Regions from separate parts of the Homo sapiens genome. Here region 1 is linked to region 2. The links are contacts of gene promoters, found by promoter capture Hi-C in blood cells and fetal thymus (Javierre and others, 2016). All regions are on one chromosome and are shown on one strand. Each heading gives the region's core, a stretch centred on a gene start or on the middle of the fragment in contact. The rest is flanking DNA. Distances are from core to core; before and after follow the strand shown. Region 1 holds the start of VRTN (vertebrae development associated). Region 2 holds the start of LTBP2 (latent transforming growth factor beta binding protein 2).

Region 1 (6,874 bases), core at 3,154-5,653, 260 kb before region 2:
CACTTTACCATTGGAAGTGACCCCCGAATTTGCACTTCTTTCATCTTGGTACAGAGCACTTGAGGGTGGGCGATTTCCTGGGGGGAGTGGCTTAAGCCGCTTCCCCACCGGCCAGTTGGCTGTAGACGGTCCATGCTCAATGGTCCTCTACAGATATGAAACTGGTTCTGGAGTGAGACGAGCTCGGCTGGGGACGCTACTTGAGAAGGCCTTTCCCCACAGGGTGACTTAAATGTCCCAGGCTGGAAGGTGGAGCGAGAAGTGGATGCCCCCAGGGCTCTGGGTCACACTCCAGGTCAGTAAAACAGCGAGTTTCCTCAAAACTAGGAAGGGTGGGGGTGCCCCGTACAGTTTGGAGGCTCCAGCGGGGTCAGGGATGATCTCGGGACCCTACTGGGCCCAGGTCAAGGAGTGGCCCCGTGAAGATGCTGTGGTGTATGTGTGTCTGGGAGTGTATGTAGAGGGAGAGGACGCATTGTTTCAAGCTCTCTTTCTCCCCACCCCCACCTCCACCTCCAGCCCTGTCCCCACCCCCACCCGTCTGCCTATCTCCCTTCCCCACCCTACACAATGGTCTGGCCTCGGTCCCTCCCCAGGTTCCCCGGGCTTCTCAGGTTGGATCCCTCGTCCCTGGAGCCCCGGACCTGCCAGCTCCCTCTTTTGCCACTCATTGCCTCCTGGCACCTTAAGGGGCAACCGGGAGCCTGTGCTGCTTCCCCTTGTGGGCTGCACTCTTCCTCCCTTCCAAACACGTGGTCCAGTAGAGCAACTGAACTGGGCTGGATTGACTTGGTGGCCTCAGGCCCACCCCTGTGACCCAAGGTGCAGCCACTACCCTTGGTGGTGGGAATTTCCTTGGGAAGTCACAGCCCAAAGGCTTGGCTGCCACCAGCCAACCCTGGCAGCTGCCCTTGCCCAGCTGGCCTCCAGGGCCACCGGGGAGGGAGCAAAGATGGCTGGCGCTCCCTTAGGCCCTGGCAGGCGCAGCCTGTGCAGTCGGGCTGGTGTGGCCAGGGCAGGGAGGGCAGGGCAGAGAGGCACGGCGCAAGGCTGGGTGAGGAGCCAGCCATCCAGGGGAGAATCGAACCCACAGCCTTACTGAGACCTGGTGGCCCATGTGCAGGTTGACTATAGAGAACACAGCGCCTGCTTTGGGAGGGAGAGGAAGAAAAGGGAGGGCTGAGAACATGGGATCCATGGTAAGCTAGAGCCCAGAATGAGGCTGGTGGGGAAGGATTTTGTTCTAAAGACCAGGCCAGGCTCATAACAGCAGATCTCTTGCCCCTCCATCCCTTGGCCCACCCAGATTCCTGGCTCACTCTTAAGACGCAGGGGACAAGAGGCCAGACCTGGGTTCTGAGACCCCATATGCTTGAAATAAAGAATGGGGGAGCGGGGAGGCTGACCTTGGTGAAGGCGAGGCTGTGAGTGCCCTGCAGAGTAGCCTGTGGCCATTCATTCATTCCTTGGCTTTACTGGAGCTAAGATCCTGGCTGGATGCCTCTGGATGTCCTGCCTTTACCCCCGCCCTTCTAATCTCAGGCAAGAGGAGGGGATGAGCCTGTGCAATCCCGAGTGTGCCTTGCCTCCTTGGTTTCATACCTTTTCAGATCACTTCCAAGAGTTGTGGGGGCCAGGGCAGGCCAGCTGGGCAAAGTCCATAGATTAGCTATCACTTTTTGCACCTCCTTCCCTGAATGCACCTGGCAACCGGCTTGTCTGCTTTGCATTGCACTTCTAGGAAGAGAGCCATTGCCAAAAAGACTGTTGCACCTGAACCCCATCATCAATTGTCTACTTAAGAGTGATAGGCTTCCCCGTGCAGCCCCTACCCTTTCCACACGGCCCTATTCTCTGGTGGGCGAATCCATCTGTGGGTTGGGAGTGAGTGTGGAGCTGCTTTTCCTTAAGCTTTTGAGGAAGCCAGAAGTGGGGTATCACATACTTGTACCTCCTACCTCTTTGGGGAAGAGAAAGGAATGAAATTGGGTGGAGCCGGGTGGAACTGGGCCTGGGAAGAGTAGATAGGGTGGGACGAGGAGGGTGGGGACAGGTGGGGACTGTGCAAGAGGAAGTGTGGCATATCTGGACGTTGTGTTGGAAGGTATCTGGACACTGCTGCATGAATTCAGGCAAGTCGACTCTACCTTTGTGGACCTCAATTTCCTTATCTGTAAAATGGCCAGGTTTGTCTTAAAGTCCTAAAAATCCATAAGTTTCTGGATCCATTGGATAATGAGAATTTTGGATGATGGAATTATAGTGCTTAGAAAGGGAGCTTGAGAGTCAGGCTGCTTAGACTTTGTAGCTTTTAAAAGCTGTGTGGTCTTGCGAAAGCTACTTAATGTAAACCCGGAACCTCCAGGTGTGAACTCGGACTAGGGATCCTGTAGATAGCGTAGGTGTGATGGAATTGTAGTTCACATGGAAGGAAGGTGAGAACCACATATAAACAAAATTACCACTGAAAAGCCTGAACTCCAAATGCTTGAGGGTGAAAAGCTGGCAGATACTTGTTAACACTTCAGGGAACATCATGCTCTCCTCAGGAAATCGGCTAATTGCGTGTAAGGGTATAAAAATATCCACACAGCTTCAGTATATTGTTCCCTCTTGTTTTTCCTGAGATTTTGGTTGAATTACCTAGTTAAATGCACATAGGAAGCAGTCAGTAAATGGTAGCTATTTTCCTAATTTTGTTTACAAAGTATCTAGCAGAGCACTCATTTGTATGCAGTTGTAAAATAGCATTCAACAAGTGACATAATGCAAGAAAAACAAAAACCCAACGTCTTGCTTGTTGACATCATTGTCTGCCAAAATGAAAAAGCTTGTCTGTGTGTACACAGTTTGTTCTTCAGGATTCCTTTTTTAAAAATTGTATAATGTTAAGTGCTGTCTTTACTAAGGACTGATATGGATTATCTCCTGAATCCAAAGAAAAGTAATAGTTTTCTTTTTAAAGTAAATATAAAAGGCATAAAAGTTGACAGATTAATAAAAGCCAACTTCTAGAGTTAAATGATATGGTACAAATAGAAATATGGTGAGAGGTTATACCAGATTTGTTATAATATACACATTTTAAAGAAATCCACAGCCTAGAAATTTTGTCCAAAGGTGATTCTGATTACCAGGTTTTTTTTTTTTTTTTTTTTTTTTTAAGACAGTCTCACTCTGACACCCGGGCTGGAGTGCAGTGGCATAATCTCAGTCCCCTGAGGCTCAGGTTATCCACCTCAGCCTCCTGAGTAGCTGGGACTACAGGCACATGCTACTATGCAGGCTAATTTTTTTTTTTCCGTAGAGATGGGGTTATGTTATGTTGTCCAGGCTGGTCTCTAACTCCTAGGGCTCAAGCTATCTGCCCACTTCAGCCTCCCAAAGTTCTGGGATTACAGGCATGAGCCACTGCACTTGGGCTGATTACCAATTTTTAAACGACTTTCCTTCTTTGGTTATCAAGTAAAATTCTGGTGGCTGTTCCCTCAGTACTTTTTTTTTTGAGACGGAGTCTCGCTCTGTTTCCAGGCTAGAGTACAGTGGTGCGATCTTGGCTCACTGCAACCTCCGTCTCTTGGGTTCAAGTGATTCTCCTGCCTCAGCCTCCCGAGTAGCTGGGACTACAGGCGCGGGCCACCATGCCCAGCTAATTATTTTTTTTTTGTATTTTTAGTAGACACAGGGTTTCACCATGTTGTCCAGGATGGTCTTGATCTCTTGACCTTGTGATCCGCCTGCCTCGTCCTCCCAAAGTGCTGGGATTACAGGCCTGAGCCACCACCATGCCCGGCCTCAGTACTTTTAATTTTTTTTATTTATGTTTTATTTTTTATTTTTGAGATGGAGTCTCACTCTGTCACCCAGGCTGGAGTGCGGTGGGCGATCTCGGCTCACTGCAACCTCTGCTGCCCAGGTTCAACCAATTCTTCTGCCTCGGCCTCCCGAGTAGCTGGGATAACAGGCACCTGCCACTGCACCTGGCTAATTTTTGCATTTTTAGTAGAGATGGGGTTTCACCATCTTGGCCAGGCTGGTCATGAACTCCTGATCTCGTGATCCACCTGCCTCAGCCTCCCAAAGTGCTGGGATTACAGGTGTGAGCCACTGCGCCCCAGCCCTACTTTTAATTTTTTAAAACATTTTTACTAAATTACAATTTGCATTCATCCACTCCTTTCAAATGTAGCTTTTTTGTTTTGTTTTGCTTTTTGGGGACAGTCTCCTCTGTTGCTCAGGCTGAAGTCCGGTGGCGTGATCATAGCTCACTGTAACCTCGAACTATGCTCAAGTAATCTTCCTGCCTCAGCCTCCCAAAGTGCTGGGATTATAGGCGTGTGCCACCACGCCTGGCCTTAAGCGTACAGTTTGATCTGAAAAATGTATATACCCAAACACCATTTTTAAACCTAAGGGTCATCTAAAGCAATTTATTGAACTCTGAGAACAAGTTTAATTTGAGAACATGATCTGAGAAACCAGAAAGGATAATGGTCCCTCCCCTAATGTAAAAAGTGTCTATGAAGGAATACCACTCTGCTTTGCAACTGAACAATAAAAACATACCAATAATTGAGATGATTAGTTTTGTGTTAAAAGGTGGTTAATGGTTTGAACAGGAGATGAATCACAGACCCTAAAGAGCATCTGGGGCCAGGCATGGTGGCTCACGCCTGTAATCCCAGCACTTTGGGAGGCCAAGGTGGGTGGATCACCTGAGGTCAGGAGTTTGAGACCATGAGACCACCCTGTCGGACATGGTGAAACCCCATCTCTACAACATAAGCTGGGCGTGGTGGCATGTGCCTACAGTCCTAGTTACTCTGGAGGTTGAGGCAGGAGAATCGCTTGAACCCTGGGGGCGGAGGTTGTAGTGAGCAAAGAATGAGCCACTGTACCCCAGCCTGGGTGATAGAGTGAGATTCTGTCTCAAAAAAAAAGAAAAAAAGTGTTTGGTTTCAACTAACTTGTATTGTGACCTTGGGCAAATTAGGTTAACTTCAGTTGCCTCAGTTTCCTCACCTGTAAATTGGGGATAATGGTAGTACTTAAAGTATTAGTGTCAGGATTAGGACAGTGCATGGCAAATAGTAAATGCTCAGTAAATCATAGTTATTAGATCTTTGTGCAGTGAATAGATTGTTGCTACCCCTTTGAAAGGCTGTTTCTGGGGCAGCACTTCTCAAACTTTTTGGTTTCAGGACTCCTGTACGGTCTGCAGACCCTGAAAACCTTTTGTTTATATAGGTTATATCTACCAGTGTATATTGTACACAAAATTAAAAATAAGAAATAAATTTTAAAAAGCCTGTTATACAGTAACAAATAATCATTTTTATGAGAAGTGACATTTCCAGAGCAAAAAAACTACTTTTTTTTTTTTGAGATGGAGTCTCACTCTGTCGTCCAGGCTGGACTGCAGTGGCGTGATCTTGGCTCACTGTAAGCTCCGCCTCCCGGGTTCACGCCATTCTCCTGCCTCAGCCTCCCGAGTAGCTGGGACTAGAGGCGCCCGCCAGCGTGCCCGGCTAATTTTTTGTATTTTTAGTGGAGACGGGCTTTCACCATGCTAGCCAGGATGGATTTTTGTATTTTTAGTAGAGACAGAGTTTCACCATGTTAGCCAGGCTGGTCTTGAACTCCCGACCTCAAGTGATCTGCCTGCCTCGGCCTATCTTCTTTTAAACCAGATACTATGGAGACTTGGAAAAATGTTAAATAATGTCCGAGAGCACATTATTCTACATTTTTACATTTTACATTTTTCTGTATCTCCATAGTATTTGGTTTAAAAGAAGATGAGTACTTTCTCATATCTTTCTATATTCAATCTGTTTTGATATATTGTTTTGGTGGAAGCATCTGAAGAAAATCTAACTTCATCAGATATATAGATGGAAAAAGGAGGAGTATTTTGATCACTTTTTCAGTGGATTTTTTTGATATTATACCAAAACTTTACAAGTAGTAGCTTCTCAAAGCTTAGTTATAATGTGGAATTTGAAACCATATCCATGAACTTTTTGTACCCTGTTATATTAAAATCCATGGGTCTTTTTTTTTTTTGAGATGGAGTCTCGCTCTGTCCCCAGGGTGGAGTGCAGTGATGCAATCTTGGCTCACTGCAGCCTCTGCCTCCCGGGTTCAAGCAATTCTCCTGCCTCAGCCTCCTGAGTAGCTGGGACCACAGGCATGTGCTGCCACTCCTGGCTAATTTTTGTATTTTTAGTAGAGACGGGGTTTCACCACATTGGCCAGGATGGTCTCGATCTCCTGAGCTCGTGGTCCGCCCGTGTCGGCCTCCCAAAGTGCTGGGATTACAGGTGTGAGCCACCACACCCAGCCCCATGGGTTTCTTTTATACTTTGAATGATTCTTCTACAAGTGCATGACTTTGTAACAGCACCCATTGGCTATTTGGAAAATGTTCACTGAGTGATGTAGATCTTTAGTGGAAACAATTGACAATTCATTATACAGCATAAAAAATTATATTTGTTAGGGCTGGGCGTGACGGCTCACACCTGTAATCCCAGCACTTTGGGAACCTGAGGCGGGCAGATCATTTGAGGTCAGGAGTTTGAGACCAGCCTGGCCAACATGGTGAAACCCCGTCTCTACTAAAATTACAAAAATTAGCTGGGCATGGTGGCATGCGCCTGTAATCCCAGCTACTCGGGTGGCTGAGGCAGGCAAATCTCTTGAACCCGGGAGGTAGAGGTTGCAGCCAGTTGAGATTGCGCCCCTGCACTCCAGCCTGGGTGACAGAACGAGACTCAGTCTCAAAAAAAAAAAAAAAAAAAATTGTCACCACTGATCTCATCAGAAAAATTGAGATTTTCAGATGGAAGCTGATAAGTTTTTATGGGCAGCA
Region 2 (6,753 bases), core at 85-2,584:
AGCCCTCAGCGTGCGCAGGCCGACCCACGCCCCACGACACTTGTCCCGACGCACCAGCTTCGCTGCCGGCTCCCCTCCTGGAGACGCATCTACCTTCTCTCCATGGGGCCCCCGACACCTCCGCCAACCCGCGCTCTGAGCCAGCTCAACCTCCCCTGGGCGTCAAGAGCCTGGAGCGCCCACCCTCCTGCCCTCTCCCCGCTGCCTCTCAGATCCCGGCAGCGCTGCAAGAGTCTACAAGAGCTCGTTAGTTGCAGGCAGGAGGAACGCGGGCGAGTGGAGAGGCGCCTTGCGAAAGGATTTAACGTCGGGGCTCCGGGAGAGTTGGTAAGAAAGGATGAGGATGATGATCTATCTGCCTTCAACTCTTCGAAAGCGGATCAAATCTTCCAATCCCGATTTTGGAACCTCGGGGCTGTTTCCCGAAGTACTAAAGACAGAGGGACGAGGGTATGAGAGCGGCGCCCTCTCCTCTCGCCTGCACGCCCCTCCACAAATGAGCCCTGGCTCCCCTCTGTACCCTCCAAACTTCCCTCTCCCATGCTCACCCCGTGAGCCGCCCTCGCGGCGGGGTTGGGGGCGCAGCCCCAGACCGCTGTGGGGTCCCCAGGCGTGGGAGAGCCGGCGCGGCCCGGGTCCGGGGTGCTGGTTGCTGCTGGCCCAGGGGAGTGCTTCTCCGGGTCTGCGCAGGTGGCTGGACACGCCGCGACTGCTGCGCGCGGGACGGCCTCCTGGCCTCCGCCTCGGTGGGCCTCCTGGGGCTCCCCCAGCCCGGCTGGGCCCGCTCCACGGGCTGCAAGCCCGCGACAGGCGCGTCCTGCTCCCGGAACAGACTGTACACCTTGGCTGCAGCCGCTGCCGGGTAGCTGCCCCCAGGGCGCCGCAGTCGATTCGCGTCTCCACCAGCCGGCTCGTATCTCCCTACGGGGTCCCTTTGGGCATGACCCGCGCCCACGAAGAGAGCCAGGGTGAGCGGCAGGAAGCCTCTCCAGGGGTTCCGCAGGGCGCGCCCCGGGCTGCGGGCTTTGGTCCGCGGCCTCATGGCGCGGGGCGGCTGGAGAGTGGTGCGCGCGGGCACCGCGAAGAGCTTTGTGGTCGGCACGCTGGACGCCCGCGGGCTGTTCTCCCGGCCCCGCCCGGCGGCCAGCTTCTCTGAGTCTAGGGGGCCCTGAAGCGGCCGACTGGGGGCCCGGCTCTCGGCGGAACGAGGGCTGCGCGCCCCGAGCCTCGAGTCCGCGCTCCTACTCCAGCTGGGCTCGCACGGCTGCTGCACCTTCGCGCCTCCTCCCTGTGCCTGCAGCCGTCTGAAGGGGACCCGGACGGTTTTATTTTTGGAAACCTCCCCCGGCTTTTTCGTCTCTTTTATCCACACCAGGCCCCCTCCTCGGAGGGACAGCTCAGCCCCCTCATTACCGGAGAGGGAGCGAGGAATTCCAGCAACACCCACTTTGGCACCGGGAAGCCAGCGGGCGGCGAGCGGGCGGCGAGGGGGATTAACCCGTGCGGAGCAGGGGGCGGCGCGGGGCTGACCCAGGCGCTGGTCGGGCAGATGGCGCCTGCCACGACCGGGACACTGGGCCGCCTTTCTCCTGCTCTGGGCAAGTTCGAACTGCAGACCTGCCCCGAATCGTTCTCCCGCCCCTCGCCTCAGGGACCGTCTTTGGATCGGGGGACCCAGGCTGCAGCCTTGCAGGTCTGAAGGAAGCCGGGAGGGGCGCCGAGGCCCGCGTAGGGGAACAGGGCCGCCGCCCCCTCCGCTTGCGCCCTGGCCGCTGGGGGCGCCCTCCGCAGGGCCGGCCGGAGCGGGGGTGGCGCGGGGCGGGGCGCGGCGCGCGGAGCGCAGGGAGGTCCCGGGCGCGCCCCCTGGCGGAGCTGGCGGCCCTGGCGCTCCGTGGCTGCAATGCCCTGGCGCCGCCGCCTTCGCTCTGGATCTCAATCCCCTTCCACTGGCGTGAGGGTCACGCCTGAGCCTGGCGCGGTGATGGCTGCCGGTAGAAGAGGGGTCCTCTTTTTCTTTTTCTTTTTCTTTTCTTTCTTTCTTTCTTTCTTTTTTTTGAGACGGAGTTTCGCTCTTGTTGCCCAGGCTGGAGTGCAATGGTGCGATCTCAGCTCCCCGCAACCTCCGCCTCCCGGGTTCAAGCGATTCCCCTGCCTCAGCCTCCCTAGTAGCTGGGATTACAGGCATGCGCCACCAAGTCTGACTAATTTTGTATATTATTTTATTTTTTAGTACAGACGGGGTTTCTCCATGTTGGTCAGGCTGGTCTCGAACTCCCAACCTCAGGTGATCCGCCCGCCTCGGCCTCCCAAAGTGCTGGGATTAAAGGCGTGAGCCACCACGCCCGGCCAAGGGGTCCTCTTTTTCACCGAGGCAAAGACACGGAGCCTCTTGAGTAAGTCACTCAAGGAGATAGCGCATGTGAAAGAGGGGAGTGGAATCTAGGCCTCCCGCCTCTGGCTGAATCCATTCCCGGGATCCCACCCAGCCCTTCACTCTCTCGGGAATTTCCCAGAGGGGGATTCGGTGACCCCGATTGACCCAGTGTGTGCATTCACATCTTGTGTTAGCAGGGAGGCGGGCAGGGGTGTGGGAATGCTGACTGCCGCTGTCTGCGTGTCCCCAGTAATCAGCACACCATTCTCACCCATGCTCCCTCCCTACAGCCTAAAGGCTTGGATCAACAGGGCTGCCCCTGGCACATTTGTACAGCCTATTTCCCAGAGAGGCAGAGTGAAGGAGCTGGCATGTGGGCACCAGTTCACAACCTCCCACACCACACAAAAGACAAGCCCAGGTAATATCTACTGTTGAAATAAAGCCTCGACCCCTGGCCTTGGCCTACAAACCCTAGCTGGCTGCCCCCGCTCTGATTTCATCTGGCCTCTTGCTCTCCCTTACCCACCACACTGTGCTGCCTTGGCCCTCTCTCTGCTCCTTGAACAAGCCAAGTGAATGCCCCCTTCCCTCTACTGGAAGGTTCCTCTCCAGGATGTTAGAGGGTAGTTCCTCATCACTGCTCCTCTCAGATTAAATATCAGCTCCTGGAGTAGCCATCCCTGACCTCCAATCTAGAGCAGCCCTCCCTCACCCCAGTCATGACTCTAACACACCACCCTGTTTCATCTTCATAAAACAGTTGACATCATCTTGTTATTGATTTGTTTGCTCGTGTAACTGAATTTTTTAATGGGCTGAACCTAAAGAGGGACTATCCAGAAACTGCTCCACTACTACCTTCAACCATATTATGGTAAATTTCCCTTTCCCACCCTTAATGACATCTCAGGCAGAGTCCTTGGCTTGAGAGGTCATCCCTACCAGACACGAGAACTATTCTATTAATATAATTAAGACCCATTTTCAGACACAAAAAGTCTGCTCCTGTCCAGATCAAAATCTCATCCAAGTTAATCAATATCACATCCCATTTAATAGTCCTCCTCTCCCCTGTCCCTTTGCTAGAGATCCTGCAGTGGTGAGAGTGGGGTGTGGTCTGTTTTCCTGACCTCCCTTTTCTGCTGTGGCTCCTCTTTGTCAAGGCTGGGAGAGAGGTGTTAGAGGAAAAGTAGCAAAGTCTTATGTGACAGGTACCCTTGGTTGGCAGGTGCCAAGCGCTGGCTTTTTCATGGGCACATATGTGGGTTTTTGGGAGGTTCTCTACAGGACCTCCACCCTGAGTTGCCATAGCAAATTACTCTCTGGCCAACCTCTCGGAGACCCCTGCATCCTCTGTCTCTCATAGGACTGTCCCACCTATGCCAGGCAAAACAATGGTGGGTTGGCCGCTCCTCACCCTGCCCACTTCTCACCTTGCCACACAGGCCACTCCAGCGAGGCTCCACGATCAGAATTCTCCAGACAGGAAGTGCACACAAGTCTCTTCATTTATGTACGTCCTCAATTCCTAAAGACATATGTTGGGTTCTCCCATGAACTGTCTTGCTGTAGTTTAATGCACCGAGGTGCCTGTAACATCCAGCAACATAGTCAGCATCAGTGGGGGGACAGTTATAGGGACAGAGCCTCCTCTTCTTGCAGATGACTGGTTCTCTCTGGGAGCTCCCTTCATTTGGTTTGAGTTGGGGAGTTCCCTCAGGGGAAATCTCAGCCCTGCCCACAAATGCAGCAGTGTTATGCTTCAGTGACTTTCTTCAATCCCTTTCATTTGTAGACTGGAATTGAGGGATGTAGTTTGATTGCTGTTGAACCTGTTCTGCCTTTAGTAAGGTGTCTAGTACTTCTCTTCAGAATGCAAGAATATTTAGCCCTCATTGTTCTATCTTTGTGGCTTCAGCAGATATTCCAAGAGCAGAGGAAAAGTCCTATTCAACAACCTATAAAATCATTTCTTGTCTGACTTCCCAAACCACAATGACAGCTCTAAAGCAACAGATATCTTGTCTGCGTTGCTCACCACTGTTTCTGCAGAACCTAGAACAGCCAAGAAGTATGTGTGAAATGGATAGCTAACTGAATGAAGGACACAGTAATCCCATCAAGTGGGGAGGGCTGGTATCATTAGACCCATTTTAAGAGAGAGGAACTGAGTTCTGGGTGGCAGCTCCTGATCCAGGTTCATGTGCTTGCTGCCTTTGGGGCTGGCTCTAAAGATCTCCTTGAACCCTACCCCTTGCATTTGACCATGAATGCCCCTTAGTTCCCAGAATGCTGCGTTCTGTTCCTGGGATGCTGCTCCTTCACAGCTGTGGAAGCCCCAGGTCCACACTTACCTCTCCTTGCCCAGATATCCACCCACCTCTGTAGTTCTGGGCTCCCTTCCTCTCCCCGGAACCTACCCACTTCCTTCAGAAGCTCCCCTCTAGATCCCTCAAGACCCACCTCAGATCCCCGTGGGCCTCCAAAAGCCAGAAACCTTGGCATCATCTTCGTCCCTGAGCTATTTTTTCCTCCTGTGTGTCCAAGTCATTATTACTGCTCCGTCTCCTCCGTCTGCATTTCTGGAAGTCTGCCGCCCATTCATCCCTCACCCTTCGCCTCCGCCAAAACCCTCACGCAGACCAACTTTCCCTCACCATCGGGCGCCCCTTCCACTCCTCAGTGAGTACAAGTGGTCCTTGGACGTTCCCACCCTGTTCGCCTGGGGACCATAACCCAGTTCATCTACTCCAAAGACTGGCATCTTCTACCCCATCCCGGCGCCACACTCTGTCCTGCCACCTACTTACTGCCCATATCTCCCTTACCCTCTAACTGCTGGGACTGATTGCAGCTCTTCAGAATCTCCAATCCCACAAACACTTGAGTTTTGCTTTTTTTTTTTAACCTGCCAAAATCGATAGAGCCTACTTTAGTCCAAACGCCATACTAAGCATGTTACATCAATTGGCTGATTTAACCAACCAAAGGAGGCATTATGATTTCCACGCATACAAAGGAGGAAACTGAGGTTGGCAATGGCTACTGGCTTGCCCAAGATGGCACAGCTGATAAATAGCAGAGGCAGGATTCAAACCTGGATCATTTTCCACCTGAGCCCAAGCTTTTAAGGTTACACCGCCTTGCCTCCACCCCGGGCTTGTAAGCCTGGAGCCCTCTTCACAATTGAATCATGACCTTTCCAACCACCCCACCACTATCACCACCAAAGGAGCTCTAGGGCATATCCCCAAATGCCCTCTTCCCTGCCTGCCAGCCCACTGTTCATGTACCTGGAGCTCATGTACCTGGAGATGTGGAGTTATCAGAACTTTCTGCCACCCTTAATCCTCTTGGCCCAGTGAAAGAAGGGAAGCTGTTTCAGCATGGCCGCTGACTCACCGTGTGTCACTTCCCCACCCCCTGATTAAAGCCTTCTCCCTCATTAGATCGCTGCTAAGCCTACTCACCCATCTCTTGGGTCTGGAGAGGAAAATCATCTCTGGAAAACCCGGCAGAGAGAGTCTAAAGGGTTGATAAAGAGATTCCAGCAGGGAAAGGTTTGCCCAGACACATGCCCCATGCAAGGGACAGCAGTCTCCTGGACTCCCAGGGCAAACTCACTGCTTTTCCATGTCTCACTGGAATAATGTTGGCAGCCAGAGGTCTACCAGAACCTGAGCTAATTTGGTAAATAAGGACCAAAAACAAGGGCCACATTTCGGCCCCCTTTGCTGAGACCCAGACTCCTGAAAGAATTCCAGGGATTTTTCTTGCTTGGAAGTAACTGGACCTCCAGCCCTGAATTCCTCTCCCCAGGAGAGCTTGTTCCCCTGCTCAGAACAAATAACACATTTCCTGGTTAATCAGAGGGCAGAATCGCTGAAGGAAAGTTTGACTGGGCCCCCAGCCTTCCAGACGGGAGCCGCTCATGGGCTTGGATGTTCTGCTCCAGACACTGGGCAGCTGGGACCCCAGCACTGCGCAGCCTCAGCCTCCAGTTTGGAAGGTGCAGGCCGTACAGAGAGGTGCCGACTCCCTCCTGTGTGAGGTTGTTAAGGCCCGCAAAGGCTGCCAGAACCATTCCACCTTAGGTGCCATGACCTGGCGTCCCCTCAAGAATTCACAACCACCCTGCCCTGGTCTGCCGGTGCCTGTCTCCTCCAAGTGGGTATGACATGCTGGCTGGTGGTGATAGCCATGGTATGGATGTTCCTGCAAAGGTAAGGTGAGCTGGCCTGTATTTCAGAGTGTGCTGGAAAGGGCCCTCCCACAAACATGTGGTGAACATTTACGTCTTCTGTGAGCGGAGCACAGTTCTGAGCTCATTTCCGTCTTCTGTGAATGCAGCACAGTTCTGAGCTTCATTTGGCTTC

The links. The method cuts DNA at HindIII sites, captures the fragments that hold promoters and counts their contacts. A CHiCAGO score of 5 or more calls a contact.
Region 1: a fragment that was not itself captured here is called in contact with the fragment with the promoter of LTBP2 in region 2 in 3 of 17 cell types (M2 macrophages, M0 macrophages and naive B cells); the score reaches 5.9 in M2 macrophages.

What each region holds. Positions count from the first base shown.
Region 1 is chr14:74,348,358-74,355,231 of GRCh38, forward strand. It overlaps VRTN (vertebrae development associated), which reads left to right and starts at 114. Exons shown (of 2, transcript NM_018228.3): 1 at 114-295. RefSeq lists enhancers at 377-1,127, 1,128-1,877. The HindIII fragment of the contact is 3,151 bases long and covers 2,829-5,979 here.
Region 2 is chr14:74,610,903-74,617,655 of GRCh38, forward strand. LTBP2 (latent transforming growth factor beta binding protein 2) reads right to left here and starts at 1,335. Exons shown (of 36, transcript NM_000428.3): 1 at 549-1,335. The coding sequence starts at 1,042. LOC101928352 (a long non-coding RNA gene) reads left to right here and starts at 2,283. Exons shown (of 2, transcript XR_944029.4): 1 at 2,283-2,393; 2 at 2,665-3,146. RefSeq lists enhancers at 1,391-2,018, 6,627-6,753 and a silencer at 1,646-1,965. The HindIII fragment of the contact is 11,176 bases long and covers 1-5,499 here.